6 separate regions of the Homo sapiens genome follow, and regions 2, 3, 4, 5 and 6 are each linked to region 1. Evidence: promoter capture Hi-C in human tissues and cell types (Jung and others, 2019). All regions are on one chromosome and are shown on one strand. Each heading gives the region's core, a stretch centred on a gene start or on the middle of the fragment in contact. The rest is flanking DNA. Distances are from core to core; before and after follow the strand shown. Region 1 holds the start of CRYBB2 (crystallin beta B2). Region 2 has its middle 18 kb from the start of GRK3. Region 3 overlaps GRK3 (G protein-coupled receptor kinase 3). Region 4 has its middle 36 kb from the start of GRK3. Region 5 overlaps GRK3 (G protein-coupled receptor kinase 3). Region 6 overlaps GRK3 (G protein-coupled receptor kinase 3).

Region 1 (4,234 bases), core at 253-2,752:
TAGTCCCAGCTACTAGGGAGGCTGAAGGAGGAGAATGGTGTGAACACGGGAGGCAGAGCTTGCAGTGAGCTGAGATCGTGCCACTGCACTCCAGCCTGGGCGACAGAGCGAGACTCCATCTCAAAAAAAAAAAAAATAGAAAAGAAATGTGAGTAAAGGCTGGGCACCCATGTGGCAGCGATGGGGCCAGTGGTAGGGATCTAAGAGCAACTCACTCTAGGACAGTGGTTAAGAAACAGGCCGGGTGCAGTGGCTCATGCCTGGAATCCCAGCACTTTAGGAGGCCAAGGTGGATGGATTGCCTGAGCTCAGGAGTTTGAGACCACCCTGGGCAACATGTCAAAACCCTGTCTCTAACAAGATACAGCAAAAAAAAGAATTTAGCTGGACCTGGTGGCGCACACCTGTAGTCCCAGCTACTGGTGAGGCTGAGGCAGGAGAATCGCTTGAACCTGGGAGGCAGAGGTTGCAGTGAGCCGAGATCACACCACTGCACTCCAGCCTGGGTGACAGAGTGAGATTCCATCTCAAAAGAAAGAAAGAGAAAGAAAGAAAGAGAGAGAGAGAGGGGGAGAGAGAGAGAGAGAGAGAGAGAGAGGGGAGAGAGAGAGAGAGAGAGAGAGAGAGAGAGAGAGAGAGAGAGAAGAAAGAAAGAAAGAAAGAAAGAAAGAAAGAAAGAAAGAAAGAAAGAAAGAAAGAAAGAGAAAGAAAGAAAGAAAGAAAAGAAAGAGAAACAGCCAGGGGCCTTGAGAATAAAATGCACTCTCCATAATTGGCCTCCCTGGCCCTGCAACATCAGGCCCTGCCCACCTTGGCCACCTGGCACAGGCCCTATTTGTCACATGTCATGCTTTAGCTTTGTTAACCTGTTTTCAGGTCTTCTTGAAATACACCATGCTGGTTCCTTGTATATGGACCCTTTCTGCTTGGAACTGTCCCCCCACCCTGTTCCCAGGCTTCCTCTTCTCCATCCCTGAGGGATGCGCTACCTCCCAGGAGCTTTTCTGAATGGCCTGGGCTGGCGTAGGTCCTCTTCCTGACACTCCCCTGGAACAGAGATTGTCACCAAGTGGATGCCCAACAAATATTTGTTGAATGAATAAATGGGTAGATGAATGAAGCCCAGACTCTGCCAAACCACCCTTCTTTACTTGTTCTTCCCCAGGCCCACTGAGATGTTCCTCTGTCTGCCATGCCTCACGGCCTGACTGACCGTACCAGTGAACCCAGCGTACCCCTGGCCCTGGCAGCCGGACGGCTGATGCATGCAAAGCGGGCATCTCCTTGCCCAGCCGCCTGACCGCCCTGGCGCGGCCGAATCTGAAAGCTAATGACATTATTGTGCAGAGACACAATGTCTGTGGGCATTTGCTGACCCGAGCTTTGGTGAGAGCTTAATCCAGCATTCTCACCCTGCTTTTCGCAGGAGCACAGCGGTCACTCATCTTGGCACCGGCACTTCTGGGGAAGGTATAAATGCCACCTCCCGCTGGCCGAGCTTCACGGCACTCGCAGGGGCTGGTGTCACTGGTAAGATTGCCTCTCTTGCTTGTCTTCCCTTCTTTCTCTCATCCTCACCCCTGTCCGCAAGCATGGGAGCACCCAGATTCTGACAAGTGACTTTGGGCAGAGACTTCAATGCTGTTAGCCTCAGTTTTCTTTTCTGGTAACTGGGAAGGGGGTTAAAAAGCCTTCTTTATTGTAAGGATTCAAGAGAAGTTAGGGGATCATCCAGCACAGTGCCTGGCACACAGTGGGCATTGGGGCAATGTTCTTTATTATTAATATTAAACAGACTATCAGCATCCTTGTTTCGCCAGTCGCTGAGGAGGAGAATGTAACTGAGGGTTTTGCAAGAATCAAACCAGTGACAGTTCAGCATTGTTTCTAGGTGGGTGAGTCAGTTTTCCTCCACATCTGCAATTAGGGGGCACCCACTCTGTGCCTAGCCTCTGGGAGTGCTAGGGGATAGGATGCAGCCACAGGTATGTGACAGGTCCCAGCAACAGGTGATTTCAATGCCACTAAAGCATGGTAGAAATGACTCTAATAATGCCACAATTGCTGCCATTTGCTGCATGCTGAGTGTGTTCTGGGACCACGGCCAAGTGCTTCCGGTTTTATACATTACATAATTGAATCCTCACAACCTGTTCACAGGTATTATTAGACATCATTACTGTCCCCATTTTATAGAACAGGAAGTTGAGGCATAGGGAGAGGATGAGACCTGCCCAGAGTCTCAATTCTGGCAGGCAGCAGAGACTGCTCCTGAACTGGACCAACTGAGCTTCTTCAGTCTGTGAACACTCAGGACTGGGAAGTGATATGGCAGGACCTCAGGCACTCTGACAAGCCCAGAGGGCTGGTTTCTTGCGGGAGAGCAGTAGATTTGGCTGCCAAGGTGCTTAACTGCATTTCTTCCTCCTGGGAAACATCCAGTATTGGCCTTTCATGTGGAAGGGGCTTCTGGAAGCTGGCGTTATCTCTGAAGAGGGAGGCCAGGCTTCCTCTCTTACCCCTGGGGAAACACAGCCTGGTTTGACCACCCCTTCTGCAGGAAGGGGGAAGAGGCTGACAATTTTCCAGGCTTTTCTGATGTTCTCACTAGCTAAGGCAGGTCTACCCTGCTGCCTGCCACAGTGCCTGGATTTCTACCGTCGCACCCATTTCTTCTCTTTCTTGTAATGTGGGTTCTGTATCAGATGATTTCACTAATGGGGGAGTAAAACCAGTGGCAGAGAAGAGAAATCTAGGTACCAGGATGGGGAGAGGAGTCCCAGGGAGAGGGTGGGAGAAGGAGCAGGGGAACAGGGAACTTTGTGAGTTCCTAAACTGGGCACCACCACACCACCAAATACAGCCAATGCATAGGTTTTGTTTGTTCCACACAATTTTATTTAAGAAATTACTGCATAAAGGCAGAAGTTCTGGGATTGACCATTCTATATTCTGTGTGGTATCCATTGTCTGGGGTTGAGTGTTGGGAACCCACTTTGGACCTCATTTAAGCTCTAGTTTATTACTGCTCTCTTTCTTTGAGTAGACCTCGTTTTTCCCTCCTCCTGCAGCTGGCCTGGATAGAAATAAATGAAGCTAAGGACAGAAGTTGAAGTAGCTGCTTACGGACCCCACAGCTCTGGGACAGTCTGAAACCAGGAGAAAAAGAGAATGTTTGGGGCCAGAGGGGAGTGGTCTCAAGGCCCCACAGAGTGAAAAAGCCAGTGGCCCCTCCAGGTCCTCACTGCTGCTTCCCATGTCTTCCAGGTCATTCCTGCACAGGACAGTCCACCATGGCCTCAGATCACCAGACCCAGGCGGGCAAGCCACAGTCCCTCAACCCCAAGGTGGGTACCTCTCAGAGGAGGGGGCATGCAATGCTCCTCCCCCAGACTTAGTTGCCCTTCTGTAAAATGGGCTTGGCATCTTTCTTCATGGGTACCCCCTCTCGACCCCTGCCCCTCTCTGGGACTCAGTCTCCTCTACCCACACAGTTGGAGCTGATACTGAAAGTCCCTCCCCAGCCCATAGCTGGCATGCTGGGATTCCCAGTACCAGCCTCTGGCTTTGGAGACTTCAGTTTCTCTCTCCCTTACCTGTTTTGCCACACCCTATTGTCTACAGGGCTCCCTGAAACTGGAGCAGACCCTCATTCTCAGTCAGAGATGGGATTAGTAGATGGAAGGTGGGTGTGAGTCCTGGCTCTGCACCTGCTGTGTGATCCGGGCCAATTATTTGATCCCTCTGAGCCTCAGTTCCATCTCTATAAAAGGAGGAGTCAGATTTATTGCACAGGGAAGTTGTGAGAGCCAAAGAAACCAGGCTCAGCCTAACACCCGGCCTGGGGTGCGCATCCACCTAACACCAGCAAATAATGCCGCCTTTGATTTCTCATCCACCTGTCCACCCAAGGGCGGCAGGATCTTATCCCAACGTCAGAGGCTTGTCACACCCAGTCTGCCCTCAAACCTCTATCTAGGCACGGCCACCTGACTGCCCTCCTGTGCCTCCCTGCTTTGGTAGCCCCGGGCACAGGTTCCTTCAGGAATGGCCCCTTTGTCTGACTCAGTGCCTCCTGGGCCAGGGAAGCCTGAGCAGATACAGCCCCTCACCTGCTCACCCCAATCTGTCCCTTTTAGGGCTTACTTTCCAGAAGAAGGACAGACAATAAATAAATGAATATATGATTTCCAGTAGTGAGAAGTGCTACAAACAATTGTAAACTAGGGGAAGG
Region 2 (3,974 bases), core at 121-2,620, 330 kb after region 1:
CCATCTGCCTGCTTTGGCTTCCCCAAAGTGTTGGGATTACAGGCGTGAGCCACCACACCCAGCAGAGGAGTTCTTAAATTCTGGTTTTTATGCTGGATACTGGATGGGAAAAGAGGAGACAGACACATTTTATTGAGGAGCCGTAGTCCAGAAACAGTAAATATTTACTTGACAAGTGATTTATTCCCTTTCATGCCATGATTAAAGTTTAACTTTCATTGAACAATTGCTCCATTTATATAGATGAAAATAAATAATTGGGAACATATGTGACAGCCCTTTCACTGGTCTCCCCACGATCTCTCTGGCCCTCCAGTAACCCATTATGTTCACAGCAGTCTTTCTGAAAAAACAAAACAAAAAAAAAAACAAAAAACAAATCATGCCCCAGTGCCTGCTTAACACATTCAATGGCTCCCTTTTGTCCTCAGAATTCAGCCCACACTTCCTATCCAAACTTTGAGAACTTGCAGAGTCTAGCTCTTTATTGATACCTCCAGTTGAATCTCATTTCTGCTATCTTTGAAGAGAGGGATAGCGGTTTGGGTGCGGGGTCAGAAACTAGGTGTGTCGGTGAGAGATTAGTCCGGGAAGCAGAGCCACACGGTGGTATGTTTGGAATAAGAACTGTGTTACAGGAATCAGATGATACACGCTTGTAGGAGAAGCTGGGGAAGAAGGTCCACTGAGAGCACTGAGGATCACTAACAAGGGCTGGTGCAAGTGAATGAGTCAGGAGCTTGTAGGGAAGTCCGAAGCTTGGTGTATTGAGCTGGTGCACAGGCACCAGGAAAGGGGCTGATCTAGAAGTCTATGGAATGTATTAGTTCTCCACGGTGACTGCCTCTGTGAATCTGCCGCTAAGGGTCTGAGGGTGGGCTTGCCATCACTGCTGGTCAGCAGGGTCGGGGAGAGCTAGATACAGAGCAGGGAAGATGGAGGACAAACTGGAAGCTGCTGGCCCCTCTGTGTCTGGCCACCCCTCACTGCTTCTAACCAATGATGACCTTCAGAGTGTAACGGCTGCTGCTTCCCATGAGCCTCCCTGGTCTTGCACAACCTCATTTTGGGGCAACTCTAACCTAGGAACATACAGGAAAAGGAGGTCTGAGAAATGTGGTTCCCAGCATAACCAAGTTGTCAACAGAATAATCCGGTAGATGTAGTCTCTGTACTCAAAGAACAGGAAAAAAGAGCAGAGAGGCCAAAAGAGGGTACTGGGGCAGTTTTGCTGTGTGATGAGTGATGTCATCCCTCCCTTCATATCTCCACCTCATCTTCAATAAAATCCACAGCCCTTGGCCATACTGTTTAAGTTGGATTTATTTCTTCCACTTTCCTCCCTTCCTCCTCCCTCCATCCCTTCCTCCTCCCATCCTCTCCCCCTCTCTTCCTTCCCTCCCTTCTCCCTTCTAGATGTCCTGGGTCTGGTCTGAACTTGGCACGGGGAAGAACAAGGCCTGCAAAGGTGGTCCAAACACATACAGTTTCCACTTTACTGAAAGGAGACATGGGTTTCCAATGTTGAGAAATCATAATCTAGCCAACCCTCTTTTTTATGTTAACTTCGTCTCCTTTCTATGAATGAGGCAATGCAGAAGTACAAAAAAAAAAAAAAAAAAAAAGCAGGGTAGTGGGGAAGGAAAGATTCTGTCTCCCTCCCAGGGAGAAGGTGATGAAAAGGGAGAAGCTAGTGCCTCTGCACCAGCTGAACGCAACAAGCTTCCAGACTTCCCTGCAAGGATCCCTCCCAGCCCTACTTACTCTTTGTTTCACAGTCAAAAAGCAGAAGTCCAAAGAGGTGAAGCACTTTGCTCCAAATCACACAGCACTCATTTTGGCCTAGAAACGGGCCTATTAGGAGTGACTCATCTCTTAAAAGGCCACACTCTCCAAGCCTGTTCTCTAAAGTGCTTACATCTACCCGGGGGGTCAGAGAGTGTCTTCACCTAAAACAATTTGCATTGATCATTGTGGTCGCAATTTCCATTTCTACATTAAAGTGGGGAAAGTGAGGCTAATTCTTAAGCTGTTGTTGGCAGAGCTTCTTATGGGGAGGTTATATCTTGGTTGGGGCCACCACAGATCAGGGGCTGACCTCTGTTGTAGAAACTCAACTCTATAGTTCACTTGGGTGAAGTCAATTTATTAATTTACCTTTGTAGTGACTGGAATGCTTGTGGATACATTTTTGGGCTCAGGGACTCTGGAAGTCTTTGACCATGGCCCATGGTAAGAAGTACATTTTATTTAATACAAAGCAGTGGAATACACACACACACACACACACACACACACACACACACACACACACACATCTGAAACAAATATTTCACTTAACGATGCTTAAAACTGACTGTGTATGACTCACTCTGATGATTTTTATTCCATTCTATTTCACTTCATTATGTAAAAATGCTGCTAGCATCCATGTAAATGTATTCCATGACCTACCGATTGGCCTTGAGTCCCAGCATAAAAAACACTAAGCTAGGGCCTCTCTTCTTGCAATCGAAGGATCTCAGAAGGAAGCAAAATTGAATTTAATCATCATAAAGTTGTTGTTATACCTCGAGTCAGAGTGGAGAGTGTGAGAGCAGCTTGAGGGTGAATTGAGTAACAGTGTGATAGGTCTGCGTGAGTTAAACCTGCTCTCTTGCAGGGCTCACTTTTCTAGCGACTGTCATGCTCAGTTTGCTAAGGAGTGTTCACTGCTCCCATTTACTGAGTCCTTATGGCGTGCTCAGTGATGGAGAGTAACAGGAAACATGAAAGAGGTCTGACAATATGGTAGGAATGAGTAGATTGATGTGAGTGAAGGAAAACACTCCTCTGCAGAGTCATGCCCAGGGACAAGCACAGTGAAAACCAAGTTGTTTTAAAACCAGCTGGTGTCTGTGATATGGAGGTATGTGGAAGGAAAACCCTGTCATTCATGTCATCGTGGTCACAGAACATGATATAATTTGTATGTCCGGAAGAACACAGCAAGAGGTTTTTTTTTTTGCTTTTTTTTTTTTTTTTTTTACTACTAAGGGCCATTCAGGTCCTAAACATGGAAGTTCAAGGCACCAAACCTCCAGTGTTATCATTACAAGAATATGGGAAGAAGCACTAGCTACTTGGGAAGATCGCTTGAATCCAGAAAGCTGAGGCTGCAGTGAGATGTGATCATGCCTCTACATGCCAGCCTGGGCAACAGAGTAAGACCCAGTCTCTAAAAGAGGGAGAAGGAGGGAGGGAGACAGAGAGAGAACTAGATGTGCAGATCTCAAAGGGTCCTAGGTGGAACACTGTGAGGAGAATCTTGCATGGAAGGAAGAGAGAGAGCAGAGGAATGAGAGACTTTGTGTTGCATTGGAGAACTCCAGGCAGGGTGCAAGCTGTGCATCTCCATCTGCCTCTGATCAAGTTTGTGTAGATTAGATAATAACTCATATAGATGTAGATAATAACTCACATAGGTATAGATAATAATTCACATAGTTGCATACCCATGTTGCCTCACTGATCAACATCATTGTGTGGAAGAAATCTTGGGCTGGGAAATGATAGACGGCCTCTCTCTTGATGCCTCAGGTAAGGACAATCAAGGCAGTCTGCTGCTCTATGGCCAAGAAGGTTAGGGATTGGAACAGAGGGTCGGCACCAAATACTTTGCTTATATTTTCTTGTTTTAAAACATATTTTATTGAGGTGTAACTCAATAAGTGCATGGGTCAATAACATGTATATACCCATGTAACCACGACTACCTCAAGATATAAAACATTTCCAGCCCCCAGGAAGCTCCCTCCTCCCCCTCCTGGTCAATATCCACCCAAGGTAACCACTATGCTGATCGTTATCAGCGTTGACCAGTTCTGCTTGTTTTTCACTTTTACATTGTTGTGGTCTCAAACAACATGCATTCTTTTGTGTCTGACTTCCTTAACAGTACGTCTGTGTGAACCAAATTGCTGCAAGCCATGGTG
Region 3 (4,140 bases), core at 635-3,134, 460 kb after region 1:
AAAAAACCCGTCCTCTCAGTACCCTGTTACAGCGTGTGTGCACTGGTATGGCTGTGACCTGGTGTTCAGAGTGGGTTAGGGAGTCAGGACAGAGAGGGAGAGGCATGGGGTGAGCGTGGAGGGGCCAGACACTAACTAACTGTGTACCCCACATGTGAATGAAACCGTAGATACTCCAGCCAGGAAGGTTTATATTCAGTGAGAAATGTGCGAGACTTCTAGATCCCATGGCTGGATTTTAAGTAAGGTCTTCACCAAAAGGATCTGAAAAAACCAAATTTTAGTGGGTAATGAAAGAATCCCTTTCAACTGCTGAGCAAGTAACCTGAGACCTAGAGAGGTTAATTTCCTTCCCCAAATCTCTAGACTTTTTGGCCAGTGCTCCTTTTATCATCACTTTATAGGCTGTATGTTTTTTCGTTTGTCACCTGTATTTATTGTATTATGGTTTATATTATTCTGTCATTAAAGTGTTTCTGGAAGAGGTATTTGCTATTGAAGCAAAAGAATAGCATAATGTAGCTAAGTTACAACAAATGGAAACCCCATAGCCATAAATAATTTCTAATTATGTGCCTTGACCTCCCACTGTATGGGCATTAAGCATTTCAAATAAGAGTTGCTTTGTGTGTGTGACCAAGTTTTTAACTGATGAGAATGGAAACCAAGCATCCTGCATACTCTGTTGGAGTCAGTGTGAATGGCATTGGCTTTTAATTTCTATTGGAAATGTCTGTATCCTAAATTTCAAACGTGGATGTGAGTACTGGATGAAGATTTTAAGTGGTTATTAAAATATTAATTTTCAGTGAGTTATCTCAAAGCCTTGGATATTTATTCTCAAGAAAGCCTATAGAAAATAAACGTTTTAATGTTGGAAAAACATAAGTATAGTTTTCATGTAATATTTTTATATTGATTTGACTCAGGTGAGAGGAGATGTGGTTAAGTGGTTGTGTAGTTTCTCACTGGTGTAACCCTAAAAGAGTAAATTAAAAAATTAGGGTTATTTTGGGCTATCACTTTGAACTAATTTAAAAGAATTATTTGTATTTTATTTAGATATCAAAACTGTATGGTATTTTTAAAATTTATAAATGCATAATTTAACAAAAATAATTATAGTAAAGTTATTTGGAATTGTTTTTGCTAATCAGGGGATACTTTCTATAGTTTTTAATAAAACTTAGTTGAAAATACCCTCATTAAGTGAAGCTTTTGATCAGACTGTATCGGCAGGCTTTCCCGTATTGTGGACATGTAACTGAAATGCATTCACTCACCACAGTTTTCTTTTTACTGGAAGGTTTTTTTTTTTTTTTAATCTCAACTTGAGTATTCCTACCCATCTCCCCAAAAGACAGTAGGAAGTACTGTTCCCGGTTTTCTTCTGTAATTCTCAGATGGCAAAAAAGGAAATATGCATGTTGGAGAACCAGCATAAGCGTGTCCACAGCTGTGAAGAGCAGTCAGCAATTCATCCAGTCAGTCATTTAAGTTCCTCAGAAGCGTGACTCATTTATTCCCTGAACCACAGTTGAGGATTTAGGTTGAACCAGGCACTCTGCGGCAAGCTGGGACTGTGGTCCCAGTTCTTAGTTCTCATACAGCTGCATGGAAAGGGAAAAGATGTATTATTCAAATGATGACGGAAATGTATGGACAACTGGGACCTGTGGCAAGAGCTATGGAAGACAGGCACACAGTGCTCGGAAGGCCTTTCGCAGGGTGGAGATGGGGTCAGCGAATGCCTTTCTGAAGTTGGGGGTTACCTGGAGAGGAGCCAGTGCACGTGGCTCCTCTGAGCCCAGGCACGTGAGGTTGGGGGAATCAGATGAGGGGCCAGGGTCTGCGGTGGTGGGGGGAGTCGTGCAAGACAAAGCTGGAGAGAGACATGAAGGCCAGGCCAGACCGTGAAGGGCATCGCCGGCCGATCTTGAGGAGCCTAAATGATCTGACTGCAGTTAGAAACCAAGTGTTTTAACTAGAGAGAGACCATAATCAGCCTTGCAGTTCACAAAGATTGCTCCGGCTGCAGTGTGGAGGATTTTCTTCAACAACGACTTCATGGTCCTGTTTTATCACAGTTTTTTTATGGCGAGTTCCTGCAAAATGTAAGCTATTTTGTTGACTTTTAGTAGGAAATCAAAGTAGACAGTTCCTTGCTCAAGAGTTTTACTTAATGGTCTACTTCTAAAAATCCACTTTTATTCTGACTTGTAATCAAGGCAGGCCGTCTTATCCATAATTATCCTTGGAACTGTATCCCACCCTTCATTAAATTGCCACTTATTTTTTCATATTGGTCAGTATTCGGTTGTGTCCTGGACTCCACATGAAACCCATTATAGTGTCTGTTCAGCACCCCGAGAGGTGAGGGTTGCAGTAACTGATTTCTGTAGAGATAACCACATCTGATTCCTTCACCTGCGTGTTTATTTTACATCGAGTCAAAGATAAATATAGTTGGACTTTAGTTAAAGCATTTATTTGGTAATTAAAACAGCATTTATTTGGTAATGACTAGACAGTAAGAGAAATAATGGAGCTCCATTCTGACTTGTGCAGAGGTGACCGGATGTTTTAAAGGGACAGTGGCCTGTGGAGTGCAATGCGGGCTGGAGCAGAGTCAAGGAAGTGAAGAATTTTACAATGCAGGAAGGGGCATGGTCCATATGGGACCCATCTGGGTTTGCTAACTGGGACTTATCCAAGTTAGACTCCTACCCTCCCATGGAGGCTCGGAGATAGGGGCTCTATCTTTGAGTGTTTGCTGGAACAAATAAAAATTCTTTGGGAAGCCTTGATTTCTCTGAGGCAGTCATTTTAAGGGGGGCTGAGCCTCCTAGGGATGTGGTCTTGAGCTGTTAGCTTTAACAATGCAAATTCTGTTTACAGATTATGTTGAAATTTGAACATTTTCTTTGGAATTTAATAATTTTTTGTGTTCGTTAAGAAACAAGATATAGACAATCTAGGCCATTTTAAAAACTGAATCAGTTTAGTGACAAGTATACACTTTATGTAAAGAATCTAAGTGGATTTCATAGATAAAATAGATCTAAATAGAGCTAATAGATCTAGCATAGCACTGATGAATTTTCATAAGGGAATACACGCATCTCCGGCACCCAGATCAAGAGACGGAAAGTTACCAGTATTCTAGAAATCTCTTTGTGCCTCTCCCAGTCACTAACCCTGCACCCAACTTAACTACTACCCAGATTTCTAACAGCATATTTTAGCTTTGCAAATTGTGTTTGAACTTTATAAATGTGCCCTTCTGTGTTTGGCTTCTCTCACTCCATGTTGCTTACAAGATTCATCTGTGGTGTTGCCCACGGCTGTAACTCCCTCCTGTAGCTGTGCAGCAGAGGTCAGAAAGCCAGGTGTGGCTCAGGCCAAGTCTAGCTTGTTGGCCTTATTTTATAGAGCCCATTACCTAAGAATGGTTTTTACATTTTTAAAGGATTGTAAAGAAAATAAGCAAAGAATAATAGATGACAGAGATTATATGCGGCCTGCAAGGCCTAAAATATTTACTTTTTAGCCCTTTGCAGAAAACATTTGCTGATCCATGATCTATATGGCATTCTAGTGTATAAATATACCATACTATCCATTCTACTGTTGGTAGACATTGGGGTTATTTCCTGGCTTGTGCTATTTTGAATGATGCTGTTTTGAATATTCTTGTCCAGGTATCTTGGTGCACATAAGTACAGATTGCTATTAGATGTCTACCTGGGAGTGAAATCACTATGTCAGAAAGCTTGCAAGTGACACTCAGCCTTGGTAGATATCACCAAATGGGTTGCTAAAGTGGCTGCACCATTCGTTGTACACTTCCAGTGGCCATATATGAAAGTTCTATTCACTGTATATCTTCCCAGCACTCAGTATCGTCAGTGTTTTTCTTTTTAGCTGTTCTCGTGGGTTTAGTGATGGCATATTGTAGTTTTAATTTGCGTTACCTTGGAGACATCGAGGTTGAGCATCTGTTCATTAGTTTGGGGGCTATGTGGTATCCTCTTACGTGAATTGCCTATTTTTTTTCCCCATTTTTCTGGGGGTTGGTTGACTTTTTTAAGTTGATTTTTTAAAGTTCTTTGTATATTATAGATATGAGTCCTTTGTGTA
Region 4 (4,228 bases), core at 1,013-3,512, 310 kb after region 1:
CATGGGAACCTGGCCCCCATGACTTCATCTAAACCTAATTACTTCCCAAATGTTCCCATTTCCAAAAACATCACATTGGGGGTTACAGCTTTAACATGAATTTTAGGGAGACAGAAACATTCGGTCCATAATACATGCCCTGTGATATACCCCCATAAAATAAATACACTGAGTGGCTGTTGGGTTTGTCTTCAGGTGGAAGGGTCTGATCCTCTGAGCTTCCAGATAGGGTTCTTGAATGATCCACACCACATCTGCTTCAGTGTTGTCCAAGAAGCTGGCACAAAAGTACAGACTCTCAGGCCCCACCCTGGACATTTCAAGTTAGGGTCTCTGGGGCTGGGGCCAGGAATCTGCATTTTGAACCAGTCCTTCCTTCTCCCACTTGCCTGCCCAGAAGATTCTAGCAGCTCCCAAAGCTTGAGAACCACTGCTCTGTACCTCTGCATCCTCTGGAGATTTTCCAAAACTCGTGTGTCTTCTTAAATCAGTTGTTTTTATAATGACTATGACACATAAAGCCATGTGATATAACAAAGGCTGAGCTGGATGCAGAAAGGGCCTTCTGACTACAGCAGGCTTTGGAATGTGGATTTAATGAGCTACTACTTTGGTGAGTAGAGAAAGGGGGAATAAAATCCCAGTGGGTCAGGATTTTTAAAATTGAATTTCTGTTGGAAAGGATAGGGAGAGAAGGGCATTGCTTCCCTAAAAACTAAAATCCTTTCTTTTCTTTTTTCTTATTTGTTTTTTTTTTTTTGATGGAGTCTTGCTCTGTCACCCAGGCTGGAGTGCAGTGGTGCAACCTCGGCTCACTGCAACCTCTGCCTCCCAGGTTCAAGCAATTCTCCTGCCTCAGCCTCCTGAGTAGCTGGGATTACAGGCACCCGCCACCACACCCGGCTAAGTTTTGTATTTTTAGTAGAGTCGGGTTTCACCATGTTGGTCAGGCTGGTCTTGAACTCCTGACCTCATGATCCGCCCACCTCAGCCTCCCAAAGTGCTAGGATTACAGGCATGAGTCACTGCGCTCAGCCAAAGCCCTTTCTTGATCATATAAATGACTCTAGTGTCTTCGTGCTTGGTGACTGCTTTCTGTACCCTGCTACAGATGATGCTGCCTGTTTGTGAAACAGGACTGATACAACTCTTCTGGAAGGAACTCTTTAATATCTAAATATCAAAACTGTTAATCATTATTATTAGTAATTCATTATTAATATGTTAATAGCTCAAGTACTACAATTAACTATTCAACTATTCAGCCCTAGTTTTCCTTTTTTAAATTTATTTTTCCAATAGCAGTGTTGTTTGAATGCCAACTTCAGATTTTAGTCTCCTTTCGACTTAGGTGATTGTGAATCTATAAATTCTTAACAAGAAGCAAATGTGTAGAATCTGTAATGCTTAGATTTTGTTATTGGAGCTATAGAAAATGTTACATTTATGGTGTCAGACTCTATTTAGCTGGTAAGGACAAAGCAAGAGCTAAGGCCAATTACTTGTCATCATCATCATCATCATCATCGTCATATTTCTGGAGCATTCACTATTTACCGGGCACTGAGCCAACATTGTATATTCATCATAGCATTTGGTTCTCATAGCAGCTCTATGAGGTTTGTGCCCACATTATCCCCATTTTGCAGATAAAAAAGCCAAGCCCCAGAAAGGTTAAGTAAATTATTCAAGGTCCACAGCCAGTGTGTGGCAGAACCAGATTCTGAAATCAGGCAGTCCAATTCCAGAGTTCCAATTCCTAACCATTGTGCTATTCAGTCTAATGAAAGGAGCGAAAGATTCAAGGTAGACAACTGTATATTGTCAAAGGCATGTTCAACACCAGGGTTGCTTGTTTCTAAATAATGTTCAAGTCCATGAACAGCTTTTTGCTAATGTTTGGAGCAACTGATAAAATATATCAAGCAAAGAAAAGTGTGGACACATCCATGCACACTGGAGAAGTAGCAGAGTGGTTTAATTTTGTGTTGGAGAATCAAAGGCCAGAATGAAAAGGCACTTTTTACATCCCAAAGGAAAATTCCCATTCAGAAAGACATTGATGGCTTTTTTAGCGGCATCCATTCATCTGCTCTGCAAAGGCATGGGGTCATGTGATTTTGAGAGTACTGACTCTACTCCCAATGCATGGCAGTCATGTATAATAATTTAGGGGACAGTGATTCCATTCACAGTTCCAGAGGTAAACCCCCCTCCAATTGACTAAACCCAATCAGAAAATCCTACTCTTGCATAGGATTGTTTCAGAGATAGGCACAAATCTCATCCTAAGCCAATCAGAGCACGGCACTTCCGTCGGCCATGGTGATTGATTCAGAGATGGGCATGTGACTGGTTTGCTCAGTTAGAGTGAAACCTAGGATTTTGTTTGGTAATTGAGATAAAGACACTTTTCTTCAGGAAGATGTGGTGTACGGAACTGTTCCAGACATTTTGTCACCATGATAAAAGTGAGTCTGAAAAGTAAACCATCATGTTCAGGAAGGCAAAATCAACAGAACTGCAGAGCAATGGAGTCAGCACCCTGATCAAGCCATTCCTGAAACTAGTGTTGACCCATTTTTATTTACATGAATCAATAAATTCCTTTCACTGTTCACATTATTTTAAGCTGGGGTTCTGTTTCTTTCAACTAAAAGCATTCTAGTTGGTACATCAAGCATTATGCTTGTCATTTAAATACAAGTAGGTTCTAATGGGGAGATCTGCTCTCATTGTGAGAACACCTTAAAATGGACTCAGCACTTGGGATCAATCTTTAAAAACAAACAAATTAAGTCTAACTACACACTATGTTAATGAGAAATGGGTGTTTTACTCAAAGTGTTATGGAAACACTGGGGAGAGAATTTACATGACATATGAAAAAGCAAAACTTAATAAGATTCCTCATCACCCATCCCCATAGGACTTCTGTGATGACACCTCTTTTGCCTTTCCTTTTCCTTTTGCTTTTCTCCCTGAACCTTCTAGCGTCTCCTTAGTCACTGCACTCTCATCCTCTATTAATGTTCTGCGTGCTGCAACATGCAAAGAAATAAAACAACGGCATCAGTTTAAAAAAAAAAAAAAGGAGGGCCTCTGTCCCTCTAGCCTGTTCCCAATCCCAACCCAAGGATCTTCCCAGAGAGTAGTTCAGCTGCTGAGTAATATTTCCATATGGTTATCTACTGTGTTCTAGAAATACACAAGGAATGCTCTTGGGCTCTTGTGCGATCCTCTCATCTTTGCAGCCACTCCCACAAGAAAGAGGACAAATCATTACCTCATTAAGTGAAACTTGAGCTTTACCCAGCTCCAACTCCCTCCCTTGGGGAATTTGGAAGAGAGAAATCACAAAGCTGATTGAATGTGGTAGACTTACTTTCTGAGTGATGTTAAGAATAACACATCTTTCTATAACCATCTAAAACTATCTTGGGATTCAAATCCTTTCAAGTCAGACAACCTCTTCCAGTTCAAACATTGCCCATGGTTAGCCATTAAATTATTCAGGAATAAAGAAGGCTCTATGGTTTCTCACTGTGTGCCAGGAATTGTGCTGGGTGCTCAGAGCCCAAAGCTCAGTGAGACACAGGCACTCATATTTGGTAGTAAGAAGTGGGTATGTAGTTTTCTTTTCTTGTGATGTCTTTATCTGGCTTTGGTATCAGAGTAATGCGACCTCGTACAATGAGTTAGGAAGTGTTCCCTCCTCTTCTATTTTTTTTTTTTAACTAGAGTTTGGGAAGGATTTGTGTTCATTCTTCTTTAAATATTTGGTAGAATTTACCAGTCATCTAGTCCTGGGATTTCCTTCTTGAGAGCTTTTTGATTATGCTTTAATCTCTTACCTTGTTATAAGCCTATTCAGATTTTCTATTTCTTTTTGAGTCAGTTTGGTAGTTTGTGTGTTTCTAGGAATTTGTCCATTTCATATAGATGAATTTATTGGTGTACAACACTTCTTAGTAAGAAGTGGGTATACAAACTCATCTCTGCTGTATAAGATAAATACTAAAATAAAGCTTGACAACAGTGTAACAGAAGCCTGAAGAAAGGAAGGCTTAGTTGTGTTTGAAGTTGGGGAGATGAAATAGATTCACAGGAGAGGTGATTGAAACTCATTGGGTGCCATAGAATGAGTAAAAGTTGGTTAGGTGAAGATGTAGGAATGGATAAGCATGTAGGGCATTCCATGTAGGGAAATGATGTGAGTAAAGGCAGA
Region 5 (3,888 bases), core at 129-2,628, 360 kb after region 1:
ACTGGCCATGTTAACTTAATAATAAATACATTAATAATTTCCTAGAAGAAAAGATGTCATAGATTCCATGTTAACTAATAAGATTGTTATTAATAATGATGGCAGTGTTATAACTTGAGAAACCAACTAAGCTACATGTCATGAGTTCTTAATGTTTTCTTACCCCAAACATCTTTTTGTGATTTTAGGTGCATTCTTAATTAAAATTCATCTCCATGCCTGCCAGTTGGTAAATGAGTATCCTTGACTTGAACACGTTTGTCAGTTACTCTAGATACAATAAAGGATTTTTTTTTTTTTTGAGACAGTCTCGCTCTCTTGCCCAGGCTGGAGTGCAGCGGTGTGATCTCGGCTCACTGTAACCTCCGCCTCCCAGGTTCAACTGATTCTCCTGCCTCAGCCTCCTGAGTAGCTGGGACTACAGATGTGCACCACCATGCCTGGCTAATATTTTTCTACTTTTTGTAGAGACAGGGTTTTGCCACATTGCCCAGGCTGGTCTCGAACTCCTGGCCTCAAGTGATTCAACTGCCTCAGCCTCCCAAAGTGTTGGGATTACAGGCATGAGCCACCGTGCCTGGCCCGTAAAGGATTTTTAATGTTAAACTTGGCACTCATTAGCAGTTCATTCTAAATTGTGATGGAAAATTAATGGAGCGGGTTGCATATCTAACCCCTACCCAGAAAGGTTGTTGAGCTCAGCTTGGGACAGAGTTGTATTTGTCAGGAGCACATTAGTAAATCCACTTATGGCTTTTGCCTTCTTCACCTAGTAATGCACGTGGAGCTTTTCCTCGTCAGCAGTATATAGATCTGTTCAGTGTTTGGAATTGCTGCATGAGATGTCAGAACTCTGATCTACTTGACCCTGTGCTCATAAGCCCAAGAGCAATTGCAGTGAATGTTCTTACATAGGTGCCTTTGGGTCTATGTGTGAGCCTTTCTCTAAGATAGACACCTAGAAATAAGTAAGATATGGGCATAGTCTACTCTACGTAGAGCTGCAAAGAAATTCTAATTTTATTCAGAAGCTTTACTGTTAAGAGTAATATTATTTTTAGTTTGAAATTATTTCATATAAACAATTATTTCATATATATATTTGGGTAAAACAAAAAAGAATAATGTCATTTTTGGTTAGAACCAAGAATTTAAGTGTAAATGAAGAGATACATGAGTACAAGATAAGAGTTAAATAAAAATTCTGTAAGATCAAATTTGAATTGGAAGGTTATTTGAAATTCATGATTTTTTTTTCAAATATGTGTGCTTATCATCCCCAGTCTTTAAAAAAATCGAAGAAACAATTGCATTTCCATCACATAGGCACCTCATACACCTGCGCCTGACTCCAGGTGTGGGTGAGATGAGCCTGGACCCTCTGTTACCTGTTGTATCAGAAAAAAAAGGAGCCATCCAAGAAATGTGGTGGGCACCTTCGCTAACAAACTCTGAGGCCAGAAGAAGGGGTTTCCACTGGCTAAAAGTGAGACACCCTGAACATCAAAAGAATATGACTGATACAAACCCCCTGTGGTGGGCAGAATGATGCCCCCCTGAAATATCCACATCTTAATCCCCAGAACCTATGAACATGTTATGTTATATGACAAGGGGGCGTTAGGGGTGTAGGTGGCATCATAGCAGCTAAGGTGCTGAGTTTAAGATAAAGAGATTATCCTGGATTATCTAGGTGGGCCCTAGTGTTACCGCCAGGGAGGCGGAGAGTTGGTGTCAGAGCGATGCAACATGAGAATGAGTCAACCAACCACTGCTGGCCTTTTGAGGAAGGAGGAAGGGGCCATGGACCGAGGAATGTGGGCAGCCTGTAGAATCTGGAAAAGGCAAGGAAATGGCCTGTCCCTTACAGCCTCCATGTGAGACCGCAGTCCTACTGACACTCTGACCGACCTCAGCCCAGGGAGGCCCATTTCAGACCTCTGACCTGCAGATCTGTAAGAGAGTCAATTTCTGCTTGATTTAAGCCACCAAGTTTGTGGTAATTTATTATGGCTGCAATAACAAACTAATAACAAAGCATGAGTTTGTGGATATCTCATGCTATCCACAAGAGATCCCCAAACAAGACAGAAGAGAACACCTCATTGATCACCACCAGCAGTAGAACCAAGGCACCTACTCTGTCTCTGAATAGTGGCAATTGAAAAGGTAAAGAATTAAGCATTTATCCTGCCTTTCCTGTAAAAACTGCTTCTTAGGGTATTTAGAACCCTAGTTGATGGTTGGGGTGGCAGGACAGGAATTCTTTTTTTTTTTTTCTTTGTGACACGCTCTCGCTCTGTCACCCAGGCTGGAGTACAGTAGTGGTGTGATCACAGCTCACTTCAGGCTCAACCTCCTGGGCTCAACTGATCCTCCCACATAGCTGGGACTAAGGGCACATGCTACCATGCCTGGCTAATTTTTTTTTTTTTGGTAGATATGGGGTTTCGCCATGTTGCCAAGGCTGGTCGAGAATTCTTGGGCTCAATGATCTGTTCACCTCAGCCTCTCAAAAAGTTGGGATTGCAGGCTTGAGCCTCTGTGCCCGACCAATGAATGAGGGGACTTCTTTTTTTATTTTTATTATTTTTTTTTTGAGATGGTGTCTCACTCTGTCCCCCAGGCTGGAGTGTAGTGGCATGATCTCAGCTCACTTCAAGCTCCATCTCCCGGGTTCACGGCATTCTCCTGCCTCAGCCTCCTGAGTAGCTGGGACTACAGGCACCCACCACCACACCCGGCTAATTTTTTGTATTTTTAGTAGAGACGTGGTTTCACCGCGTTAGCCAGGATGGTCTCGATCTCCTGACCTCGTGATCTGCCCGCCTCAGCCTCCCAAAGTGCTGGGATTATAGGAGTGGGCCACCGAGCCTGGCCGAGGGGACTTCTTTACAGAAGAATGGCAGCAAATTAATGTGGAAGGAATGGCGAAATTTTAAAAAAATCCCCATTTTGCAATTCTTAATGAAAATATTGATTTAGGCAAAGATCATCAATGTATGATATCGCTAAATGAAAGATTGATGGGGAATTTCAGATGGAGAGATCAGACTATCACCAACTGAATTTTCTAAGTAAAATTTGCATCACTAGGATGAAATAACTGTGTACCCCCTAATGTGAGGCAATATAAGTACCAAAACCATCTCAAAAGTATTCCTGCCCCCAAATGGTGGACTTGAATATGATCAAGCCTTTTGAGGTAACTTTCAGTTTATAGGAAATATGGAGAGAGAGGAACAGTGAAAGACCTTATAGGGAAGCAACAGACAGAAAGGGCATCCCCCATGATGGCTTCCTCGGCTTCCTCAGGGGGTCACTGCAGATAAAGGTCAGGGGTGGGGACAGTCAGGTACTCTCCCTGTCTGCCTTAAATCCCAGAAGAGATTTAAGAGATGGCGCTATCAGATGAATGTGTGGATCTTGGTTAGATCCAGATTGAAACCCACCAGCTATACAAAAGACACTTGAGTCATGGAAATGTGGTTAGAGACTGGGCATTGGATCTTCAGGAATTATCAATTTGAAGGGGGAGTTGGGAAGTGATAATAGACTGTGTTTATATGAGAAAATTATCCATAATTTTTAGAAATGCAAACTGAAATAGGCTAAAACGACATGTGGTCTGAGATTTGTTATTGATTGATTGATTGATTGGGATGGAGTTTTGCTCTTGTTGCCCAGGCTGGAGTGCAACGGCACAATCTCGGCTCACTGCAACCTCCGCCTCCTGAGTTCAAGCAATTCTCCTGCCTCAGCCTCCCAACTAGCTGGGATTACAGGCGACTGCCACCATGCCCACAGCTAATTTTTTGTATTTAGTAGAGGCGGGGTTTCACCATGTTGGCCTGGATGGTCTTGAACTCCTGACCTCAGGTGATCCTC
Region 6 (4,322 bases), core at 1,492-3,991, 400 kb after region 1:
TGTTTGCATGGTACATCTCTTCTCCATTCTTTGATTTCAAAGTGTCTCTATTTAAAGTGTGTTTGTTACAGGCAGAATCTGCTTGAGACTGCTTTTTAAACCCAGACTAACAATCCCTGTTATTTCATTAGAATGTTTAGATCATTTACAATTAGTTATCAAAACAGTTGGAGTGAAGTCTCCCATCCTTCTAACTGTTTTCTGTTTGTTCTTTTTTCTCCTTTTCCTGTTGTCTTTTGAATTGAATATACTTTGGTATGTTAGGTTATTGCCACACTGGCTTATTAGCTGTACCTCTTCATTTTTTTTTTTTTTTGGTGTTTCCAGGAACCTCTGCATCCCTGAACTCTTGATGCCCTCACCTCAGCAAGACCACCAAGGTCTGCTTGGGTGTCCCTCCTAGCGCTGCAGTTCAGTGCAGTTGACCACTGTCCTAAGGTACCTCTAGGCCAAGAGCCAGCTCATCCTGGGATCCTCCTAGTTTATTTTCCTTCTCTGAAAGACCGCAACCCTTTCCATGTCTGAAAACAGTTATTTCATAGAACTTTTCTCTCTAGCTTCCTGGCTGGTCATGGTGAGAGATTAAGTCTGGTCCTTATTATTGTATTATGCCCTTGAAGTATAATTTCATTTTTGAAATATTTGGCTCTTGGTGAGAAAATTTGATAAATACTTGAAACTGAGACTCCCTGTAAAATCCTAGACATATAGCGCCTTTGTTATAACTTCATGGTGCAACACAAACATGATGGTTGGCTTCCAGGTTACCCATAACAGCACAGGTAAGTCTAAGAAGCTTTAGAAAAGGCTGTATCCATACAGTTTGGGTCATGATAACAGTTAATGAGCCCCTTGGTGCTCAGTGCTCTACATACGTGATCTCATTTAGTCTTCAGAATGACCCTGTGCAGATCATTCTTGGCCCCCTTTTACAGGCAAGGAGCCGAGCCTCAGAGGTGAAGGGATTTGCCTGGTGTCTTGCACATAGTGATGGGCTGAGGTGGAGTCTACCACACTCCAAGCTAAAGCTTTTGACCACTATACTAAGCTGAGTAAGGAGTTTTTGTTGTCGTTGTTTTCGATAAAGGGTCTTGCTCTGTTGCCCAAGCTGGAGTTTAGTGGCGTGATCATAGCTCACTGCTGCCTCGAACTCCTGGACTCATGTGATCTTCCCATCTCAGCCTCCAGGGTAGCTAGGACTACAGGTGCACACGATCATACCTGGCTAGTTTTTTTTTTTTTTTTTTTTTTTTGTAGAGATAGGATCTGGCTGTTGCCCAGGCTGGTTTCGAACTCCTGGCTTCAAGTGATCCTCCTACCCTAGCCTCCCAAAATGCTGGGATTATGAGCCACTGAGCCAGACCAAACTAAGTATTTGAAATGTCTTAAGGGGCAGCAGCAGGTTAGGTGGTGCTGGAACATCTATGAAGTGGTTGGTTTCTTCCTGAGGTAGCTACTTGTTGCCAGGAGAAAGCATTATGATTCATTTCTCACAGAAAGTGGTTCCCTCTCCCCCTTCTCTCTTCCTTTACTCTCTCCTGCTCCTCACATTCCTTCCTTTACTCTTCCTTTCCTTTGTCTTTTTTGTGTGTGTGTGTGTGTGTGTGTGTGTGTGTGTGTGTGTGTGTGTGTGTGTGGTTTTAAGGAGTGGAGAGTTTAATAGGCAAGAAGGAAGGGAGAAGGAAGAAGCTCCCCTGTACAGAGACAGAGGGAGGGGCGCTTCAAAGCCAAGAGAGGGAACCCCAAATGGGGCGGAAACCAGCCAGGTGTATATATAGAGAGGCTGGAGAAGGCAGTGTCTGTTTTGCACAGGGCTCGGGATTGGTTTGACCAGGCCTGTCTTTCACATAGCCCGCGAAAAAGCTGGCCCTCCCACCCTAGCCTTTTAATATGCAAATGCAGGGCACCATGATGTTCTGCACACGTGGGGATATGTGAGGGCCATTAGGTTGCCAGGAACATGTTGGGCAAGGGCAAGAAGTCCCGCAGGGATTGTGGGGATTGTCGTGTTGGGTGGACCTAGTTTCTAATTGCCTGCATTTGCATATCAAAGGTTGCCAGCCCGGCTCTAAGAGCAGGGGCTTTACAAGAAGCTTTTCCCAAGAGGCTTTAAAAAATGAAAACTTCCCAAAACTTTTCCTCCTTGTCTGCCTAAAATACTTTCTTAATAACTCCTACAACATTCCTCCCAGTGGAGACGCCCCACTAGCTGCTGTTAGGAGGTTTTGGGCGACAACTCTTTCTGGCTACTTCCTGCAGAAAAGGGGTGTTGAATGGGGAACAGCAGCTAGGCCTCCTCCTGGAGTCCATCTAAGGGTCCTCAGAAGAATGGCGTGTCCTTGTGTGGTTCAGTTGACAGCACCGTTTGGAGTTTGATTGCTGCTAGGCAAGAAGAAACAATTTGAGTTGTAGTATTGAGTATACAGAGTCCAAATATCAATACAAGACATATCAGTAAGAGGGGGCTTAATAAAGGGGTTAACGAATTCCATCAAGAAGACTGGAATTTATTAAAGAGGGATTGTAGCCACTCGGGACTGAAGCCAGCATTTTCCTTGAGCCTGTCAATAATTTTGATTTGATCTTTAAGTACCTGTAGATTTTCCTTTACTATACTAGAGGTGTTCATCCAAAAGCAGCATGTTTCATTTAAAAGTGCGTCACTAGACCCAATAAAAAGTCCTAGCAGACTTAGTGATAGTAAAACTTTCATGCTTCCTTTTTGTTAGTAACTATTATCCCTGCTATAGAGATAGTAGAGTGAGGACAGCAATTCCCACAAGTGTGGTGTGGTAGGTAATTTCCATCTAAAATTTTACTTGCCAACATATAGAATTCCCCTTTGGGGGTCTGTGAAGTTCCTTGGTTTTATTTTCCCAAACAAAGAAACCTCTGGGTTATGGGCACCTTACTCACTTTCATTACCTGGCAGAATTTGCAAGATAATTGCCCAGAACTAGTATATTGATTCACATGTTTACGTTACCCATCCCTATTTTTTCTTTTTTTCAAGCTGCAGAAGATCACCATTTGATTCACAGGAATAGGCAGAGTTAGTCTAAAATGTAGGCAAAAAGCTTAAAAACAATTAGTGAGACTAGGATTTAATGACAAATATATGATAACCTTTGGAGCAAAATTTTTCTCTCCAGTCCTCATTTTTGGTAAAAACTAATTATGAATAAACTTTAGTCTTATACTTGGCCTGATTATTTGCATAAAGGGCAGCAAGAATGGTTATTTTTACATGGACCTTTTGGATTAGCTTTGATGAAACTCTATTCCACAAGGAATCTTAGACAAGACCCTTAAAGTTGAGCCCAGCCATGGGTTTGTATCCTCAAATACCTGTGAGTTGGGTGATCCTCTCCTCTTGAGGTCCCAAGATAAACTGGGAGCTCCCAGACCTGTTAGAAAGTGACATTCTTTACTGACCACAGGTTAGGAACCCTGTGCAGAGACTATAGACAAGGTATGGGGCCAGTTCTCCCCAAGGGGCTTTTATTGGCTCTACATGTTAAGCTTGATTCCTTAAAGGGAAACACACTGTTTCAGTTAAAGCCTTGGTAAAATAACCAGTTTTTCCAACTGTGTCCTGTTGGCATCCTTTGCCTTTTTTTTCTTTAAACCCCTCCTCTCTTTGTCAAAATAGCAATAAGATCCCCAGCAGAAGAGAATGAAATCAAAACTGACCCCACTTGAATTCATGAAACCACAGAATGTTAGGCCTAAGTGAAACCTCAGAGTCTATGCATTCCAGCCCCTTCATTTGATTGATGACGAAACTAAGGAACACTGGCAGAGAAGTGAGTTGGTAGAACCATGCAGCTTGTCGGTGTGCAGCAGGTCCTGGAATGCAGGGAACACTGACCTTGGGCGGGATGCGGGGATCAGCTCCCTCAGCGTCTGAGGGTATCAGCCAGATCATAGCGTTTGCTGTGCAGTGGGATCGTGAAGAGCCAGGACCTGAAGGAGACCGAGTAGCGCTTACATAGGTTAGTTGTTTAGGGGACATTTCTTTGAGGATGTGATCAGGGGATCATGTGGAGCAGCGTCGTCATCAGCCAGGGCAAGAGGGAGTGCAGTGTGTTTCAGAAACTGCCAGAAGGCCCACGCAGGCAGCTCCTGATGAGAGAAAAGAGGGGAGGCAGGGAACTGCGCAGGAGCCAGGGTTTTGAGTGTGATGGGAAGCTCTGGTGGGTCTTGACCAGGCCCGATGTATGTTTTAAGATCATTCTAGCCTCTTTATGAAGAATGAATTGCTGGGATCAGAGTGGGAGCATGGAAACAGGAAGAAGAATCTGGAGACCCCTGTCGCATTT

What was found. Contacts are between HindIII fragments. The study calls those that stand out against the background at their distance.
Region 2: a fragment that was not itself captured here is called in contact with the fragment with the promoter of CRYBB2 in region 1 in 1 of the 25 tissues and cell types used here (dorsolateral prefrontal cortex).
Region 3: a contact is called between a fragment that was not itself captured here and the fragment with the promoter of CRYBB2 in region 1, in 2 of the 25 tissues and cell types used here (mesendoderm cells and thymus).
Region 4: a fragment that was not itself captured here is called in contact with the fragment with the promoter of CRYBB2 in region 1 in 1 of the 25 tissues and cell types used here (mesendoderm cells).
Region 5: a fragment that was not itself captured here is called in contact with the fragment with the promoter of CRYBB2 in region 1 in 3 of the 25 tissues and cell types used here (dorsolateral prefrontal cortex, liver and mesendoderm cells).
Region 6: a contact is called between a fragment that was not itself captured here and the fragment with the promoter of CRYBB2 in region 1, in 4 of the 25 tissues and cell types used here (dorsolateral prefrontal cortex, hippocampus, mesenchymal stem cells and 1 more).

Annotation. Positions count from the first base shown.
Region 1 is chr22:25,218,137-25,222,370 of GRCh38, forward strand. It overlaps CRYBB2 (crystallin beta B2), which reads left to right and starts at 1,503. Exons shown (of 6, transcript NM_000496.3): 1 at 1,503-1,530; 2 at 3,268-3,347. The coding sequence starts at 3,294. The HindIII fragment of the contact is 11,576 bases long and covers 1-4,234 here.
Region 2 is chr22:25,545,135-25,549,108 of GRCh38, forward strand. No RefSeq gene overlaps it. Among named protein-coding and RNA genes, the nearest start is that of GRK3, 18 kb to the right of the region's middle. The HindIII fragment of the contact is 3,110 bases long and covers 1-2,925 here.
Region 3 is chr22:25,679,643-25,683,782 of GRCh38, forward strand. All of the region lies in intron 9 of GRK3 (G protein-coupled receptor kinase 3), which reads left to right. Among named protein-coding and RNA genes, the nearest start is that of MYO18B, 60 kb to the right of the region's middle. The HindIII fragment of the contact is 4,338 bases long and covers 1-4,053 here.
Region 4 is chr22:25,526,726-25,530,953 of GRCh38, forward strand. No RefSeq gene overlaps it. Among named protein-coding and RNA genes, the nearest start is that of GRK3, 36 kb to the right of the region's middle. The HindIII fragment of the contact is 4,655 bases long and covers 1-4,228 here.
Region 5 is chr22:25,576,892-25,580,779 of GRCh38, forward strand. The region is part of intron 1 of GRK3 (G protein-coupled receptor kinase 3); the gene reads left to right. Among named protein-coding and RNA genes, the nearest start is that of GRK3-AS1, 13 kb to the left of the region's middle. The HindIII fragment of the contact is 6,370 bases long and covers 1-3,888 here.
Region 6 is chr22:25,618,422-25,622,743 of GRCh38, forward strand. All of the region lies in intron 2 of GRK3 (G protein-coupled receptor kinase 3), which reads left to right. Among named protein-coding and RNA genes, the nearest start is that of GRK3-AS1, 55 kb to the left of the region's middle. RefSeq lists an enhancer at 1,459-2,245. The HindIII fragment of the contact is 3,659 bases long and covers 913-4,322 here.